Regions from separate parts of the Homo sapiens genome. Here region 1 is linked to region 2. The links are contacts of gene promoters, found by promoter capture Hi-C in blood cells and fetal thymus (Javierre and others, 2016). All regions are on one chromosome and are shown on one strand. The core of a region is centred on a gene start or on the middle of the fragment in contact, and the rest is flanking DNA. Distances in the headings are between cores, read along the strand shown.

The links. Contacts are between HindIII fragments. The CHiCAGO score rates a contact against its expected background, and 5 or more counts as called.
Region 1: a contact is called between a fragment that was not itself captured here and the fragment with the promoter of AGO3 in region 2, in 2 of 17 cell types (M1 macrophages and M0 macrophages). The highest score is 5.8, in M1 macrophages.

What each region holds. Positions count from the first base shown.
Region 1 is chr1:36,058,274-36,062,746 of GRCh38, forward strand. It overlaps AGO3 (argonaute RISC catalytic component 3), which reads left to right. Exons shown (of 19, transcript NM_024852.4): 19 at 1-4,473. Among named protein-coding and RNA genes, the nearest start is that of TEKT2, 24 kb to the right of the region's middle. The HindIII fragment of the contact is 1,067 bases long and covers 2,585-3,651 here.
Region 2 is chr1:35,929,800-35,933,728 of GRCh38, forward strand. AGO3 (argonaute RISC catalytic component 3) reads left to right here and starts at 1,306. Exons shown (of 19, transcript NM_024852.4): 1 at 1,306-1,646. The coding sequence starts at 1,628. AGO1 (argonaute RISC component 1) reads left to right here. Exons shown (of 19, transcript NM_012199.5): 19 at 1-733. RefSeq lists enhancers at 922-1,445, 1,446-1,970, 1,971-2,493 and silencers at 949-1,458, 1,469-1,808. The HindIII fragment of the contact is 14,155 bases long and covers 1-3,929 here.

The DNA of each region.
Region 1 (4,473 bases), core at 1,868-4,367, 130 kb after region 2:
AAATCAGTTAAATCACTGAAACGTGGGAAATTGTTTTACAAAACTTTTATTGATTACACTTTAAGGTATTAAAAAGTACTATAAAGCTATCAAAACTGAGTTTATCAGTAACATTGGATTCAGGGGAGCTTTGCACTTTGTAACTCATGAAAATTGCATTTTGATTTTTTTTTTTTTTGCACTGGTTCAGAGTATAGATACTACAGATTGTTTCCAGTGGGCATTGTTGTTAGCCTTTCAGAATTCCATCTGCACGTGAAACCTAATGGATTTAGATCTTTAGTTTCTCTCTTACCTGTAATCCACTATTATTGCCAATTCACTGTATTTTGAGCCTAAAATCTGAGCCCATGTCCTCTGACAGGCATGAAATCTTTTGTCCCTCTGCCAGAAAACTAAGAAAGTACTGTATTTTGTATGTTTATTATTTTGAAGTGTCTGAAATGCAATTTACAACACTGTTGCAAAGAACTTTACAAAAGGTAATATTTGTATCGTATATACATTTTTTCTCCCAGCCTTCTCCCATCTCCTCCAGAAAAATTTCCTATAAAGATGGATTTTTTTACACTGAAATTTTACTGAATATAGTCAGGATCATGGGCAAGAGAAGAAAATAGTATACCCAAGATGATAAAAATTTAATTCGTCTATGCTTGATCAGTGTGAGTAAAACATCTTCCTTTATCATGGGAGCTGCACAGATTCATGTGGGAAACTTTAGGGAATGACTGTAGATACCCTTTCTCTATGTACTCTCTCACCTAATTTTCAGTCACTCATATATGCTAGAGTGGAGCCCTTAATTTAAATCTATTTGGAAGGACTTTTTTAAGAGGAAAAATATTTTTTCTAAATTATAAAGCTTTACCTTTTGAGTGATTTCTTTTTTAGAGTGCTCTTACACTAGTCAGCATTGCTAGTTTAAAGTTGATTAACTTGAAAGAGTATGTATACTATATTTCTATTTTGCTAACAAATTGGTATATTAATTACCATTGGTTCTTAATTACAAGAAAACTTGTGCTTAGAATTTTAAGATAAAAGGCTAAGTGACAAATGCTTCTTGAAATTTGTCCTATTTATTGTTGCATTTCTGGTGTAGAATTTCTAATCTTTTTTATTTTAAAAAAGTTTTTTTTTTTAAGTTAAACATGAAATTCACAGTGACCCTTCTGCTCCTGCCCTTGCTCACTAACTATATCATGAATGCTAGATTTTGGTCTTCTTTTTTCTGTGATGTATCTTACGAGACTGACTGTAAAATATCAGTCTGGCAACTAGATAATTGATTTTCATATGAAGAAGAGTTGGGAGTTTAATGTATATTCTTGATGGTTAATGTGTCTACATAAAGTGCTGATACATGTATTATATCACAGTATCAGGTTACTGGCATGGAGGACCATACACTTACAATATTGTAGCTGCTATATTTATTTAAGTAGATTCTGACAGTTACTGCACTAAACAGTAAGGAGATAAGCAGGATTCAAGGCTAGTGTTAGACCCTTTTTTTTCCTAAGAGTAAGGACACGGAATATCAAAGTAACAAAGGGTGCTGCCATTTTAGTTTCAATTTAATATCAGGATATTCTTTGTTTTAGAAATGTAGATTTTGACTTTTACAGTTTGAAAAAGGGTACCTCAGCCTCTTCAGTACTGGTTTTTTGGCACATTTCAACAGAAATATTAGATTCCCTTTCTTTTTCTTAATAGTGATCTTCTAACAAGTTTCTTGGAAAAACTATCATTCTAAGGGAAATCCCTGTTTATAACCTATTAATATATTTCTATTCCTAGAAGAGAGTCTAGCAGGGATTCTAGTAGGAATTACTGAGTGTTTTGGAAGGCACTTGATAGAGGCATCTCTGCTTTCCAGCACAGGGATTCTCAGCCTTCTAAAGATCTAGACCAGTTTCCAAGCTAGCTTCTCCACAGCCCACCACTGCCTAGTGTTTGCTTGTGTATTCTCTAATGGATTTTAGGAGGATAGGCCTTCTGACAGAGTCATGAAAGACTGAAGGCATGTCTAGGGAAATAAAACCTGACTTGCCCTTCAGCAGGAATGACTGGCAGCGGATCTCTGTGTTCAAGGAAAGGGTGAGCGCTAAGCATGCCAGTGATGGATCCGAAGTATTTAGATGGATTGCAGACCAGGAATTAGAGACCGTTTGTGACTCAAGGAACTTGATGGATCTGTTTAGAGCCCTACATGAATTTGCCAAGGGCAGTGATTTTTATGAAATTCAAGAAGCAAACGACTTCGATACAGCTAGAATATGTTGCAGTCTTCCTATTTCAAACTTGATTTTAATATTTTTACCAAGAAGTTTAACTGACAACTCTGCAAAATTTTCATTCAGTATCATTAAACCTGAGTTAAATGTTTGCTTAGCTTATCCTCTTAGATGTTCTTCTGTTGAACAGGCAGGTTGCCCTTAACAGTAACTTGCTACTTAAATTACCTTTTATTAGTTAGTCAAGCTGCAAAAATATCATTAGTGTGGCGTCTTTATTTTGGCTTTATCCATATGAAGTATTCATTATTTTCATTCTTTTTGAGAATTCATAAATGTCTTAAAGCTTCAGTAAGAATTGTTGGGAGGTTTGACATCAAGTAACGCCTTCCTGTGTAGCAGTATAACCCTAATTTAGAACTCTTGTTTTCCTATTTCAGTCCTCATATTTGATCATAGAAAAGCACTTTTGTGATTCTATAGGAGTCAAAAAATCAGCCAAGAGTAGGTAAGTCAGTCAGCACAGAAATCAGAAAGTGAGAATTTTCTCCAAAAAATCTTTTTAAAAAAGTCCTGCTTATACTAAGAACATTCTTGATCCGTTGCAGTGTTAGAAATGACACTGTGATTAGTGAAAGCCAAGCTGAGTCCCAGGAAGCAGGGAGGGGGAGTGTGTGTGTGTGTATATGTATGAGTGTGTATATATATAATCTCACACACACACACAAAGGGAAAAATTATTTTGACTTTTTTCCTACTTTTAAAATGGTACATTTAAGTTTATAATTTTCCATGTCAGTCAACATAATTTTTTAAACTAAGGTATAATGGTCAAGGCTTGTGCTAATATTACCTACTACTCATTGAAATTTATATTACTTTACCCATCAAAACTAGTACTCCAGATGTTTACATCATTGATTAAATCTCAAGAATCTTTTGTTCTTAAAATATGGAAGTTAAAGATTTTAATTTGAATTAAAGATAGAAGGATGGTAAATTCAATATAGAGGGTTGAGATTTACCAGTGAGAAACCCTGTTGAAGTATCAGGTAAATGGTGTGACAAAATTAGAATCCTGTCAAATCACCTATCCAGCCATCGGGGTCCCTTCCTTTTTTAGACTAATTTCTAAGGTAACCAGAATCTAATGTATCTATGTTAGGGTCTCAGTAAAGCAAAGACGTTTGTCAGGGCGTAGACTCTTGAGTTAAATTTTTTAATCATTTTTTAAAGCAAGGCGGTTCTTAGAAAGTGCCTTTTCAGAAGATGGTGCTGTAGATTTTTATTTTTCAAGTAGCACGAAGCTAAGAATTTTAAAGATAAATTATTTTAGAACTCCAAGAGTGTGACAGTTTCATAAAAATAATGTTAGTTGTTGTCTTGAATCTCGTCCAAGGGAACCAAGGAAAGCTTTTATGCAGTAAAGTATCTAGGTAAATGCTCACCAAATTTATTTTGTAAATTTGAAAACAAAATATTTAGTAGAATTACCTCTTTTAATTCCCAACTGTGTTGGAGGAAATCCATAATGCACATAAAACAGCAAACCTACTTAACTTTTTAACAAGATTATGGGTATAGTACCAATGTCCAAAGGGAAATGTAACTTGCCTGGAATCATAGGCAACATTTTCTAATTAATCTTTTTTTTTTTTTTTTTTTTTGAGACAAAGTCTTGCTCTGTCACCTAGGCTGGAGTGCAGTGGCTCAATCTCAGCTTACTGCAAACTCCGCCTCCCGGGTTCAAGTGATTCTCGTGCCTCAGCCTCCCAAGTAGCTGGGATTACAGGCATGCACCACCACACCCGGCCCTAATTAGTCATTATTAAGGAGGACTGCTCATAAAGGCAGTACCAAATCATCATTCAGATCAGCTTAAGTGAGAAAGCAAAATGATAATCTCTATTGTTAGAGAAATTTTCTTTTCTAGACACCAAGGAATATTTTAAATGATTTTTTATTTTTTCTAGGATGCAGGAACTATGAAAAATGATGACAAGGCATTTAAAAGGGTATGATCAGTTAAATAGAAGTAGGGTCTGCAAATTGTGCTTAAGGGGAAATAAGCAAAAGAAAGGAAAATAGTAGAACCTTTCATACTAATTAGAAATGTAGTTACCTACCAGAGGGCAATTTTGCTCCATACCAGGAAGCAGTAAATAGCAGTAAATGATCACCTAGGCACTTCTTTCCTGTGAATTTGGTGAGCATTCTTCCAGAAAAGAAGACT
Region 2 (3,929 bases), core at 56-2,555:
TTCACTAACATTTGGGGAGGATTTTCTCTGTGCTTTATGTATATTACCTAACCTTACAAACTGTGTAAGGTACATGCTGTTCTCTCAATTTTTCAGATAAGAAAATTGAAGCCCAGAGAGATCAAGTGACTGATCCAAAGTCCCACAGTGAGGGGAACTGAAGATAGGATATTCTTTCTCCTTTTCCTCTTTAAAAAATTATTTTGATTAAAAAAAACCGTATTACTGAAGCATAGGGACATGGGGAGAAATTATGAATGATTCCTCAGCCTGAATAAAATAGTATGTTTCATTAAGGCAACAAATATTTATTAAGGACCTAATATTTGCCTGACATTCAAGTGAGGTGGGGGGCACACAAGTAGTAAATAAATAACAGACTGGGCAAAGGGCTACCAAGGCAATACTGTAGTAGACTAACAGGTGCCCCACCATAGATGGGTGGTCCGGAAAAGGCGTCTCAGATGTCTTTCGTTGAGACGCAAAAAAAAGCTGTGGGGTAGGGCGTAAGGGGAGGGTGGAGAAGAGAGAGAGGGTTCCTGGCCAAGGGAACCAAAAGCAGAGAAGCTCCAAGTCAGAAAAAAGCAGCGGTTGGCCCGTTGGGAGAATTGGAAGCCAACCAGTATAGCTGTAGCACAGGCGGGGCCCATTTACGCCGTGCGTTTTCACCCTGGAAAGGAGTTTGGGTTTTCAAGTGTGACGAGGCGCTATTAAAGAGTTTTAAACATGGAAATTACTCGATCTGATGTTTGTGTAGTGTCCTGTTTGTTAGTCATCTTTTCCAAACTATAATACATTTTTTTTTTCCTAAAAATGGTCGTTAAAGCAGCCTAGGACTTAGGTCAATTGCGGTGGTCACTTGACCGCCTGTGAGGAGGCGGCGCGTGGGGTGGATCGGACTGGGCGTGGCGGGGGCTCAGGAAGGAGGGTGGCCCTACCCCAGCGGGCTCGGCTCGGGGCCTCCGCGGCAGTTCGGGGTCCTTCACCCGCCGGCTCCAGGTAGGCTACTCCTCAGGTAAGCCCCGCCGCCAGCCGCGACGTCGTCGCAGACAGGCACCGCCCCCACTCGTGCGGCGCGAGTAGTCCTGCCCCTCCGCGTTGTCTCCGGCCGGCACGGCCCGGCGGGGTACGGCCGAGCCCGCCGCATGTGGCCCGGCTCCCGGACACCTCCCCGGCGTCCTCCGCGCCGGCCGCTCCTGCCCCGACGTCGCTCCGGCACGGCTCGGGGCCCAGAGGCGAGGCGAGGACGCCGGGCAAGCCAGGCAGCGGAACTGACGCCGGCGAGCTTCCGGGGCGGCCCCGGGCAGGTCGGCGGCGGCGGCCCGCAGTCGTGGAGGAGCGGTGGGAGCGTCGGCGGCCGCGGGCGATGCAACTTCCGGACGGGACTCCCCTCTGTCCGCGCCTCACATCTCCCCTTCCTCTCGCCTAGTCCTGTGCCGTTTTCCGTCCGCGACTCTTCCGGCCCAGAGCTTTCGGAGTGCGGTTGCTCAGGGGAAGCCGTCGCCGCCCCCGCCTCGGGGCCGAGTGAGAGTGCCCGTCGCGTCGCGCCGCGTCGCCCCCCGGGCCGCCTCCTTGCCGCCAGTGGCGGGCTCCGTTCTCCCTCGAAGCACTCCCCCCAGCTCCATGAATGGAAATCGGCTCCGCAGGTGAGTCAGAGTAGCTGGGCCAGGTAGGGGATGTCACCCAGCTACTGTCCTCTGAGCATCCCTGCTCCTCCCGCCCGGCCCAGGTGCGCGAGGTGAGCGTCGGGCGGGCATCGCTCGGTCTCCCGCCCCTCGCCCTGCTCCTCCGCGACCTCCCCGCAGCCCAGCCCCAGTTCCCCGGGGGCCCCTGAGTCGGCGAAACTGCGAGGCGGGGAAACGCTTGGAGGATTTAAGTTTGGGGTTATCTAGGCGGCATTACTCTTTGCTGGAGTACCCTTCTTCTAGACTTTAGAATGGTTTGCCATTGTCTAGTTGGAGTGCGTGTCCTTTAGCCAGGTTGTGTGTTCCGTAGAGGCTGGGCAGCCAGCCAGCTCCCTTACCTACCTCTTAGGATAGTTGTGAAGATAGGCTGAGATAACGGATAACTTCAGATTAAGTTCGAAGGAGGTGTTGGTGCAACGTTAAATTCAACATGGCATTGCTCCTACCCTCGAGTTCTTTTCTGTTGTTTGTGGCAGCATGGTAGATAGTTTCTGAGGAGCTTGGAAATGTCATAGCAGCCTGGATCCCTGCTTATACGAGGAGGTGGTTCTTAAAATTGCTGACAGTATATTTTTTTTCATTCTCTATTCCTTAGAGAAGTAGTTGTCATATTCCTGGAAATTTGGAATTTAAGAAAACTGCTTTATCTCTGGGGGCAAGAGCAGCAGTTTTGCAGTCTTAAGAGAAAATTGCAACATGGATAGTACTTGTCCTTAAAAAAGGAAAAGTATTGTTTATGGTTCTAAAGTAATTAATTCAGGGACAGAAAGGTGTTGCATAACGGTTTGCCTAACAAATGATCATGCTTGGCTTATTAAATTTGAAAGTATGCTTCAGACGATCACAAGTTCGTAAATTAATTTTCAAAATATTTGCGGGGCTGTCTTGTTACTAATGGTGTTACAAGTTCCTGAATTCCATATCTCTTTTTGCCAATTTGATATAAGAAAAACTTACGTAAAAGAAACCAGTGACATAACGATAGCTAAGAACTTTGTTGAATAGATTACGTGTCAAATGGTTGCAAAAAAGCACTCAAACTGGGGAGATGAGATGGGGAGAGAGTTACAAATTTTTTTTTTTTTTTTTTACAAATTTTGTTACATGGAAGTTTCTCTAATCAATTTAGACCATATCTCTTTTTCCTGCTCCATTGTTTCGCTTTCCCCCATATCGTCTTAAAAGGTCTGTCTGGATTGTGAAAAGATTTCGACTCTTATTCAGTTTTGATTTGTGTATTTCTGAAACTGTCCTGCCCTTTTAAAAAAATTACCATACTACTGTTTTACTGTACAGGAGATGTGATTATTTGGGACCATAGGTGATCTTTGTACATAACTGTCCTGTTGTCAAGTCTGGAAAACAAGTCATGAAGGTCAGACCCTTTATTAATCATCCCAAAACTTTTAAAGATATTTCAAAAAAGTTTTTAAAGTTTTTTCTTTTTCTCCTTAGGGTTTTTCATATGATATTGTGCCCATATATATGGGAAATGTCTTAGAAAACATTTGTTACATCAAACCACCTAGTCAACTGGTACAACTAAGCCAAGTACAGCTCAGAAAATACATTTTACCTCTTCTTTTTTGGGTGTCCCATTGCTGAAATGGATACCCATTTAGCTGTCTTCACATTTGGGGAAGTGTGTAGTTAGATTATCAACTATATGCCTGGGTCTCTTGAAAAGTAAAGTTTTTTCTTCAGTACAGTTTATACATGATTGAATGTAGCCTAATAATGAAGATAAGCTATACTTTGGCTCAAGATTGTCATCAGAAACAAAATTTTCATTATTCCTGAGACTTGTATATAATTGGTATGCTTAGCTTTAAGTTGAAAGCATAGCTGTGCAACTAAATTTTAAATCCATAATTTAGGCTGGGTGTGGTGGTTCATGCCTGTAATCTCAGCACTTTGGGAGGCTGAGGAAGGATGATCGCTTGAGCCCAGCAGTTGGAGACCAGCCTAGGTAACATAGTGAGACCTGCCTCTACAAAAAACAGAAAACTTAGCCGAGAATTGTGGCACATGTCTCCAGTCCTAGCTACTTGGGAGGCTGAGGCAGGAGAATGGATTGAGCCCAGAAGGCAGAGATTGCAGTGAGCTATGATCGCGCCACTAACTCCAGCCTGGGTGACGGAGCAAGACCCTGTCTCAAAAAAAAAAAAAAAAAAAAAAAAAAAAAAAATCATCATTTGACACGTATTTTGATTTTAAAATTTTAGTATAAATGTTCTCAAAAAG